2 separate regions of the Homo sapiens genome follow, and region 1 is linked to region 2. Evidence: promoter capture Hi-C in 16 types of primary human blood cells and fetal thymus (Javierre and others, 2016). All regions are on one chromosome and are shown on one strand. Each heading gives the region's core, a stretch centred on a gene start or on the middle of the fragment in contact. The rest is flanking DNA. Distances are from core to core; before and after follow the strand shown. Region 1 has its middle 20 kb from the start of ALOX5. Region 2 holds the start of ZFAND4 (zinc finger AN1-type containing 4).

Region 1 (5,028 bases), core at 490-2,989, 320 kb after region 2:
TCAGTTGTTTGCCTCTTTTGGTATCATACCCAACTGTTAACCTCCAGCAATTGCTAGATAATTGCTCTTTTGGTTTTGACAGCTTTTTAGGGGCATAAATTGCTCCACAGTCTGATCCAAATATATTTTGCTTCCTTTGCAGGAGCAGTTTTTCAGACAAGACTTTGATGTTTGTTTTAACCTCAGGAAGGCCCTTCTTGGCTCTCTCTTTCTTGGATTTTTATTGTATATGTCTAGCTGGTTTATGGTTTAGTTTGTTGCTCTCACTAAGCTGCCATTAACCTATTAATTGCTTACCACCAAAATATTCATTGTTTTTGACAGTGCCCTTAGGCTTGAACTTCCGCATGTTCTGTTGCAAATAAAGTTTGTCCCTTTAGGGAGAACTAGAGACTTTTCTTCTTATGGCCTACTTCTCCCTCTAGGCAGGTCCTCTAGTCTCCCTACTGCCTCTACTGCCACTACTCTGCAGGTGGTTTTGGGGACAGTGTCATGCTTTTCTCAGATGTCTTTCCTTCTTTATGGGTGGGGTACTGGATTGGGCAGTAATTTCTGTTTTTCTGCCTTTTCTGGAATGGAAACTTCACTCCTCCCATGGAATCTCTGCCCTATGAGTGTAGCGGAGCAAGGACATTCAGCATCAGTATTCTTGGCCCGTGGCACTGGGGATAGAACTTACGCCTTAATAGTAGAGGCTGAGTGGAAGAAGGAAGCTTCAGATTCTCAGTCAAACTTTCTTGGAATAGAACTTCTGCAACATAGAGCCAGAGATGGGCTTGGGAAATGCTGGTAGTCTGCCCTAGATTGGGAGCTGAGGGGAAAGGGCACCCTGTCTTTTTGGCTGCACATCTCTGGAGCAGGGTTTCTGTTTCACTGAACTGATTGCAGGAGAGGGAGGAAATGAACAGAACTTAAACACCATAGACTCAACACCATAGACTCTCACTCCTCTCACTGAAATTGGTAGGCTTTCTTGGATTTCTTCATTTGCTGTCGGCCCTTAGAACAATTTCCAATACTCTAACATTTTTTTATTTTGTTTGTTTTTAATTTTCACCGGTTATGGTTGTTTTACTCTGGAGAATGTCTGCAGAGCTCTTCAGATAGTCATTCTGTAAGTGCTTCTCTCATAATTGATTTCCAACACCTGAAGAGTGAATTCCCTTTTTCAGATGAAATCTTACAAGGAAGCAGATAAAAGTGGAGACATACTGGTTGAACATAAAGTGAACTAACAAACACAGGGCTGGAAGTTCTGATTGATTGACTTTTTTCTTGTTGTTTTTCCATATTCTCCTTCACCTTCATCTTCCAAGCCCTAGATGTAGATGAGAACACTGTTGGAGAATCATTTACCTTTGGGATGAAGTGGATCAGGTCCACTCAGATAGTACAGAATAATGTCCTTTAAATAGAGTCAACTGATTGTAGAGGTTAATTGCGACTACAAAATACCTTCACAGCAATACCTAGATCAGTGCTTGGTTGAATAGTTGAGTACTACAGCCTGACCAAGTTGACAAGCAAAACTGACAATCACACCATGCTTCAGCCACTGTGAAGAGCTTCAACCATGGTTTTTCCTGAGCAGTTTACATCTTCTCATTCCCATGAAATCTTGGCACATTTCCTTCCCTTCATCTGGAGTGCTGCTATCCTTCTCCTCTGTGTTCTAATCTCCTCCTGCACAAATGTTGCTTTTTCCGTGGAGCCCTCCATGACTCTTTCAGGCAGAGTGAGTTGCTCCTTTTCTGAGCTCCCACAACCTTTGTTTAAGCCCATATTTTGGCCCATCGTCACTTGTCCCACCAGTATTTGCTTCTGTCTCCATTCCCCCACCATATTCTGAGCTAACTGAGGGCAGGGACTATGTTTTATGTATTTCTTGATCTCCAGCCTGATGCCAGGAGAAAAGCAGCTGTAAATGTATCCTAGTAGGTAGGTTAAGTTTCCAGGGAGCCTGCAACTTGCTATGAAACTATCGTTTTTGTGGTTGGCAAAGCAGACACGCAGCATAAGGCTAAGCTCAAGAGAGCAACCCTAAGTTCCCCCCAGCTGACCGCATGATCTCCTGACTCATGGAGTGGAACTTGTGGCATGTCCACAGGAAGCCCTGGAGCCACTGTCCCCATGACAGCAGCAGGACAAATGTACTTCTTCAGCAGGACAAAATAGTGCTGGTCCTTTTGCTGGTCAGGAAAGTGACTTTCCTGACAGTCACTTTCCTCCAGAGGGTATCTTGTGTGACTACATCTTCTTTTGGCCAGCTTCAAACATTTATAGCCTATTTCAGTTTCTTCTGGCCTGTTTGCATAACTAAACAGAATTAAGCCCTGTCTACCACTGAGCACTAAAAAGAAAAACATATTCATTGGGGATTTAGAGAAAGAAAGAATAAGAAATCAATTGTCAAGACTCTATTTTCCCAGCTCTACTCTAGGACAGAGGAAGCTCATAGCCCTAACAGACTTTTCCTTAGGATGGATGTTGACAGCTCCTCCCAGCCCACTCCTTGTTTAGTTTTCATTTGTTCTATCCCAGGAAGATTCAGAGGAAGAGGGATACATCTTAAGATGTCTCTGTAACTTTGTAAGGATGCTGCTGAAAAGATAATGATGAAATGTTGATTGCAGCTTCTTTTTAAAAATTTTTATTGATACATAATATTTGTACATATTTATGGGGTACATATGGTATTTCGTTACACGCATAGACTGTGTAATGATCAAGTCAGGATATTTAGGGTATCCATTACCTCAAGCTTTTGTCATTTCTATGTGTTGGGAACATTTCAAATCTTCCTGTCTAGCTATTTTGGAGTATACAATATATTACTGTTAACTATAGTTCTCCTACTCTGCTGTCAAACATTAGAACTTATACCTTCTATCTAACTATATGTTTGTACCCATTAAGCAACCTCTCTTAACACCCCCACCCACAACTGTTCCCAGTCTCTGATAACCATCATTCTATTCTCCTTGAAATGCATGTTTTTAGTTCCCACATGAGTAAGAATATGCAACATTTGTGTTTCTACGCCTGGTTTATTTCCCTCCAGTTCCATTCATGTTGCTTATTGTGGCTTCTTGAGTCTGAGTTCAGAGCTGAGTCATTTTTGGGTGAGTTTCCCCTAATCTTCCACCTCCTTGTGCCTTTCAGAACAAGACCAGGCTTTTGCCTCTTGGCTTCTTTCCCTTCCTGCAAGGCTGTGCCATCAGAAGTAGGCAGGGCAGCCAATGCTATCTTTCCATGGCATGTGCTTTCTTAAGTAGATTTACCATCCATGGCTCAGTTCAACTACTCTGTTGCACTTAGGAAGTTAAGGAGCATTCTTCTCATTGGAACTTCTTGACTAAGTGGAAAGATACACTTCAATCCATGACACACACAAGACTCAAATAGGCTTGATGTATTTGTGATTAGTGTGAACTCAATTCTTGTTTTTTCAGAAGGAAGACCAATTCTCATACTCATCTTGAAACCCGTCTGACATTGTTCCTCCCAAGATTAGATAATCACGACAGAGCACCTCTACTCCTAACTGAACACGCATAAAATAAATAATTCCATCCCAGTCTGAGTGCGGGTCTCTCCCCAGAGGTCTACCCTGATTCTCTGCATGAAAGAGCCACTGGTTATTCTCCTCCCTTTATGCTGCGGGAGGCTAATTGCACTCACCACTACCTAGTACTGTTTTTAACTTTTCCTGTTTATTGCCTGTGTCTCCCACTAGAGGCTGAGTGATATGCGATGTGATCTTCTCAGTTTTGTTCACTTTTACATGTTATCCCCACAACAAGGTTTGTGGTGAGGCGTGGGTGGGAAAAAGGGAAATAATTCCTTCCTTCTTTCCTTCGTTCTGTCTCTCCTTTCTTTCTTTCTTTCTTTCTCTTTCTCTCTTTCTTTCTTTTTCTTTCTTTCTTTCTTTTTTTCTTTCTTTCTTTCTTTCTTCCCTTCTTTCTTTCTTTCTTTCTTTCTTTCTTTCTTTCTTTCTTTCTTTCTTTCTTTCTTCCCTTCTTTCTTTCTGTCTCTTTCCTTCTTTCTTTCTTTTCTTTCTTTCTTTTTCTTTCTTTCTTTCTTTCTTTCTTTCTTTCTTTCTTTCTTTCTCTCTCTCTCTTTCTTTCCTTCTTTCTTCTTCTTCTTCTTTTTTTTTTTTTTTTTTTTGAGACAGAGTTTCACTCTTGTTGCCCAGGCTGGAGTGCAATGGCACGATCTCGGCTCACTGCAACCTCCACCTCCTGGGTTCAAGTGATTCTCCTGTCTCAGCCTCCTGAGTAGCTGGGATTACATGCACATGCCACCACGCCTGGCTAATTTTTGTATTTTTAGTAGAGACGGGGTTTCACCATGTTGACCAGGTGGTCTTGAACTCCTGACCCCAGATGAGCCGCCTGCCTTGGCCTCCCTAAGTGCTGGGATTACAGGCGTGAGCCACCACGCTTGGCTGGAACTAATAATTTCTTAAGCACTCTGTGCTAAGATATTTTACATACTCTAGCTCATTCATTCTTACAACAGCCCTGGGAGGTGACTGTCATTACTCAGTTTTACAGAGAAGGAAACCCAAGTTCCAATGTCTCCTAAATGGCATCTTGTGTGTTTGAACGTTTCAAGTTTGTGAGGAGTGCAATCAGTATCCAAGAAAGTGCCACTTAGAAAGAAAAAGGCTTAAAGAAGGAAAATGTTCTGGGATGATGAAAATCTAATACCTAAAGGTGTCAATTATGGATGTGATGTTAACTAACCTTTATTGGGCTTCATGCTGTTGGGCACTGCATTGGGCACCTTATTTGGGTAGATATTATTCTCATCCCCATTTAATAAATGCAGAAAGTAAGATAAGCAGGGATCAAGTAACATTCCCAATATCACATAGCTAGTACTGATGAGGCTGGGATTTGAATCTTGGTCCTCTAACTTCAGGGTCCAGATTCTAAACAAAGATGTGGGGAAGAAGGGAGGTGTAACTTGTAAAATGAATGAAAAATAATGCTTTCCTTTGAAGTGTTAGATTTAGGGTTCAAG
Region 2 (5,045 bases), core at 1,660-4,159:
AATAAATTTTTATTGGATTTTCGTTTGGCAAACTATGCTACCCCCCCCCCCCCACTGTCTGATCTTGTTAATAAAGTTTTATTGGAACACAACCACATTCATTGATTTACTTACTTTCTATTGTTGCTTTCACCCTACCTCCAATGTAAGAGTTGAGTAATTATGACGAGACCGGATGGCTCACAGAGCCTCAGATGTTTTCTATCTGCCCCTTTTATTTATTTTTTTGAGACGGAGTCTTGCTCTGTCACCCAGGCTGGAGTGCAGTCATGTGATCTTGGCTCACTGCAACCTCTATTTCCTGGGTTGAAGCGATGCTCCTGCCTCAGCCTCCCGAGTAGCTGGGATTACAGGCGCCTGCCATCACACCCAGCTAATTTTTGTATTTTTAGTAGAGTTGGGGTTTCACCATGTTGGCCAGGTTGGTCTTGAACTCCTGACCTCGTGATCCACCTGCCTCGGCCTCCCAAAGTGCGGGGATAACAGGCGTGAGCCACTGCGCCTGGCCCTGCCCCTTTACATAAACAGTTCGCTGACCATTGCTCTAAGGCATTCTGTTCCATTCTTGCCTTGTGGAAGCAGCAGAATGAACCTAGGTAATAGCCGGGGGAAGTGCTGAGGATAGAAATGTCAGCCTCTAGAGCAGCACTGCCCCATAGAACTCTGCAGGAATGAAAATTTTCTTTATCTGCATCGTCAAAGGCAGTAGCCACTAGCCACCTGGATGGCTGACCCCATTCTAGTCTGTGTTTTTTGGTGCTCTGTCGTCTTGCTGCTGACTATTCAGCCTGTCACCATGGTGCAGTCTTGTAGGCCGCCCAGGTTGGTCTCAGCGATCCTGGAGCTACTGACTTCTTCCTTGGGCACTGTAAGATCAGACAGGGAATTACTCATACCCAGAGTCAAAGATTTTGTTCAGCTCCCACAGGTCAACCATTTGCCCAAGTCTGCTGTGAGAGTGACGTGATGACAGATGAGGGCACTTGCTAGTTGGCCACTCCTTTCCCCTATTCATTTTATGCATCTTCCTTCTGTCCGTAGGTTATTTGTGCACATAGTTTCTTGCTGTAGTACCCAATGTCGGTCAGAGTCAGCATTTGTTAAATACGATGATTTTCTTTTGGAACAACTAAATCTACTCATCAATCAGTAGGATTGGTTTCAGGGGATTCAGGAGACAACAGGTTTAGAAAATACGCAAGCTGCTATTTTGAGAGGCTTGAAAGGGAGAGAGAACTTACGTTAAAAAAAAGTTCCTATGGTAACAACTTTTAATGCTATTTTATTCAGTCTCCATGGTCTATCAGATAGGTAATGTAGTAACACTAATTTTACAGATAAAGCTAAAATCTGGAAGCAATGTGGAATAATGGAACAAGGTTGGATTTTTGTATTGTGTCCTAGTTTAAATATGGCTTTCCGACATAGAGCTGTTTGATTATAGGTAAATTGTTCTACTTTAATTGGCTTTTGTTTACTCCTTTGTAGACGAGGGATTTCACTACCAACTTTGCAGGATTGTGATGGGGAGAGAATACGTAAAGACCCTTATCAACTATCTGGCACTTGAAGAATGGCAGATGATAATGATGATGATGTTGTAAAGAATGAATGACTTGGCCAGGTAATGGAGCTTCTGGTATTGGGAGGCAAGGCTTTAAACACACCTGCCTGACTCCACGGTCCATGCTGTCAATTCTCCAGTGTGAATGAAGTGGGCAGGCAAGGGTGAGAAACGCTAAGGTTTTTACTCAGTAAGTCTCCATCACAGGCCCTATTCTAGGCTCAGGAATGCAAAGATGATTACCATCATAGCTCTGTCCTCAAAGGTCTCCAATCTATTTAGCATTAAGCATATGTGGAGTTTCAGAAGGAACCAACGGCGAGACTGGTGAATCAATGCCCAGTGCCTCACCATACTCCCCCAGTGTATGCTCAATAGTTCGTTGAACTGTGGAGATAAGTTGGTGGGTAGGGTCTCAGAAGAATGAGAGAGGACAGGAGACACAGATTAGATGTTTAGTTTCATATTAGACTGGCTCCTCTGAGCCAGAAGTCGAGGATGAGTGAACCCGCAGTGGGAGTGAGATGACATTCTTTGTCAGCTGAGTAACCCACTTAGTGAAGGAGGTTCACGGAGTTGGAAAATCGGTAGGGGGAACGGAACGAGGCAGTGGGCTCCCATGTTAGGTTGAAAGGCAGGTGTTGGCTTGAAGCCAGTTACTGTTTACACCGCAGCTCAGCAGCTTGGAAACTGGAGCAGGAGGTGTGGCTGGGCTTACCCAACGCTGGGATTTGAGCCCAGGGTGCCTACTCCATTGCCTGGCCTACAGTTCTCAGTAAATTGTATGAGGACTACAGAAAGTTATCTGTTTTCGCCTTTGTCTTCAAGCAGGCACGGTAATGCCCCCATTTTCCAGATGAGGCAATTGAGGCCAGAAACATTAGGGGACGGTGAAGCCTAAAGCAGATTTGTTAGGACAGGCCGGCCCAAACGCACCAGGAGCGCCCCTCACTCTGGAGAGGCCACCGACTGGACAGCGTCTGCCTGTATCGCCTATCTCCAGCAAATCAGGCGCCTGGAAGAGGATCCCCGGTGGGTCTCACGGAGGGCGGCTCCGGCTTCAACCCCGCCGTTCCCAGCAGGCCATGCGGCTGCCCTCCAGACGCCCGCGTGGGCACGAGTCAGGGGTCCAGTGTTGCTAGTAATAAAAGATCAACATCCGGGCCTCGTAACTCACAACCTCCAGCGAATGCCAAGAAGGCCCCAGGGCCCTGGCGCCCCGGCAACCGCCCACGTCCGGGGGCCAGGCCTGCCCCCGCCCGCGCTGATTGGAGGGCAGCGAAAGCGCCGTCCAGCGATTGGTAGGTGGTGTCACAAAGGGGCGGGGCGCGGCGGCAGCGGAGCGTTGTCGGCCAGTGCCTTCCGTGAAGTTGCTCGCCGGGTCGTTGGGCCCTGTCGACCTGTAGGCGGGCGAGCGAGCCAGCGGACAAGACTGCGGGTGAGGCTGAGCTAGCGAGCGGCCGGCAGGGGGGGCGCCCGGGCTGCGAGCCGCTGAGCCCAGCCGCGCTGCCGCCGCCGGCCGTCGTGGGGCCGGAATGGCGCAAGGCCGGAGTGGCGCGGGCGCTCGGCGCTGGGCTGCCGGGTAGAGTCCTGTCCCCGCCCCTCGCCTTGCGGCCTGACGCCGGCCGCTGCTGCCCGGGGACCGGAGCGGCGGGCCGCCTTTGCCCAGGACACACGCTCTGGCGTTTGTTCCTTTGGGCGTGACGCCAGCTTCAACGGGTACGCGGCTTTCCCGACGGGTGCTGATCTCCGAGTCGCTGTTGTCACGCGGACTGCTGTCCTCCAGATTCAGGCCGGTGGGTCTGGGGAGCCCGGATTGGTCTTGGAGGAGCAACGGCTGCGCAGGTGACTCGGTGGCCTCAAGTGTGTAGGTACCTGGATGGCGCGAGGAGATGCTGGCTCTGAAATACTTCCCAATTCCGCTTGCAGATGAACTCCGGACTAGAGTTTAGGCTACAGACAAGTTAGGCGGTTGATGTGATTCTGTAGCTCGTATTTCGAACTTTAGGGATGTTTTGATGTATCAGTAAATGTAGATCTGTGTCACAGTTTTAATGGCAGCTTCACATTCCGGATATCTTTATGTTGGGGAAAATGTTTCAAAGGTAACTGCTCTTCTGTAGCTAAGCTTCTTTAGAGCAGAGGTTGGAGAAAATTCTGAGTTACTGAAATTACGTATTCAGCGCTATTGCCTGTTTACCTTTAACTTCCATTTCATCCTTGGAGTTGTGTTTTTAGAAACTTTTCAGAAGAAATGAGAGAAATGCTTTGGGAATTGATTTTTTTTTTTTTTTTAAGTTCTAGGGTACATGTGCACAACGTGCAGGTTTGGTACATAGCTATACATGTGCCATGTTGGTTTTCTGCACCGACTAACTCGTCATTTATATTGCGTATTTCTCTTAATGCTATCCCTCCCCCCATCTCACTCCCCACGACAGGCCCCAGTGTGTGATGTTCCCCTCCCTGTGTCCAAGTGTTCTCATTGTTGAGTTCCCATCTATGAGTGAGAACATGGCGGTGTTTGGTTTTCTGTCCTTGTGACAGTTTGCTGAGAATGATGGTTTCCAGCTTCATCCATGTCCATGCAAAGGACATGAACTCATCCTTTTTTTATGGCTGCATAGTATTCCATGGTGTATATGTGCCACATATTCTTAATCCACTCTATCACTGATGGACATTTGGGTTGGTTCCAAGTCTTTGCTGTTGTGAATTGTGCCACAGTAAACATACGTGTGCATGTGTCTTTATAGTGGCATGATTTATAATCCTTTGGGTATATACCCAGTAATGGGATCGCTGGGTCAAATGGTATTTCTAGTTCTAGATCCTTGAGGAATTGCCACACTGTTTTCCACAACGGTTGAACTAATTTACAGTCCCACCAACAGTGTAAAAGTGTTCCTATTTCTACACATCCTCTCCAGCATCTGTTGTTTCCTAACTTTCTAATGATCGCCATTCTAACTGGTGTGAGATGGTATCTCACTGTGGTTTTGATTTGCATTTTTCTGATGACCAGTGATGATGAGTGTTTTTTCATGTGTCTGTTGGCTGCATAAATATCTTCTTTTGAGAACTGTCTGTTCATATCCTTTGCCCACTTTTTGATGCGGTTGTTTTTTTCTTGAAAATTTGTCTAAGTTCTTTGTAGATTCTGGATATTAGCCCTCTGTCAGATGGGTAGATTGCAAAATTTTTTTCCCATTCTGTAGGTTGCCTGTTCACTCTGATGGTAGTTTCTTTTGCTGTGCAGAAGCTCTTTAGTTTAATTAGATCCCATTTGTCTATTTTGGCTTTTGTTGCCATTGCTTTTGGTGTTTTAGTCATGAAGTCCGTGCTCATGCCTATGTCCTGAATGGTATTGCCTAGGTTTTCTTCTAGGGTTTTTATGGTTTCAGGTCTAACATTTAAGTCTTTAATCCATCTTGAATTAATTTTTGTATAAGGTGTAAGGAAGGGATCCAGTTTCAGCTTT

What was found. Contacts are between HindIII fragments. The CHiCAGO score rates a contact against its expected background, and 5 or more counts as called.
Region 1: a fragment that was not itself captured here is called in contact with the fragment with the promoter of ZFAND4 in region 2 in 4 of 17 cell types (naive B cells, M1 macrophages, neutrophils and 1 more); the score reaches 8.0 in naive B cells.

What each region holds. Positions count from the first base shown.
Region 1 is chr10:45,351,484-45,356,511 of GRCh38, reverse strand. No RefSeq gene overlaps it. Among named protein-coding and RNA genes, the nearest start is that of ALOX5, 20 kb to the left of the region's middle. The HindIII fragment of the contact is 2,048 bases long and covers 716-2,763 here.
Region 2 is chr10:45,670,636-45,675,680 of GRCh38, reverse strand. It overlaps ZFAND4 (zinc finger AN1-type containing 4), which reads left to right and starts at 2,909. Exons shown (of 10, transcript NM_174890.4): 1 at 2,909-3,431. RefSeq lists a silencer at 2,607-3,326. The HindIII fragment of the contact is 4,202 bases long and covers 1-3,694 here.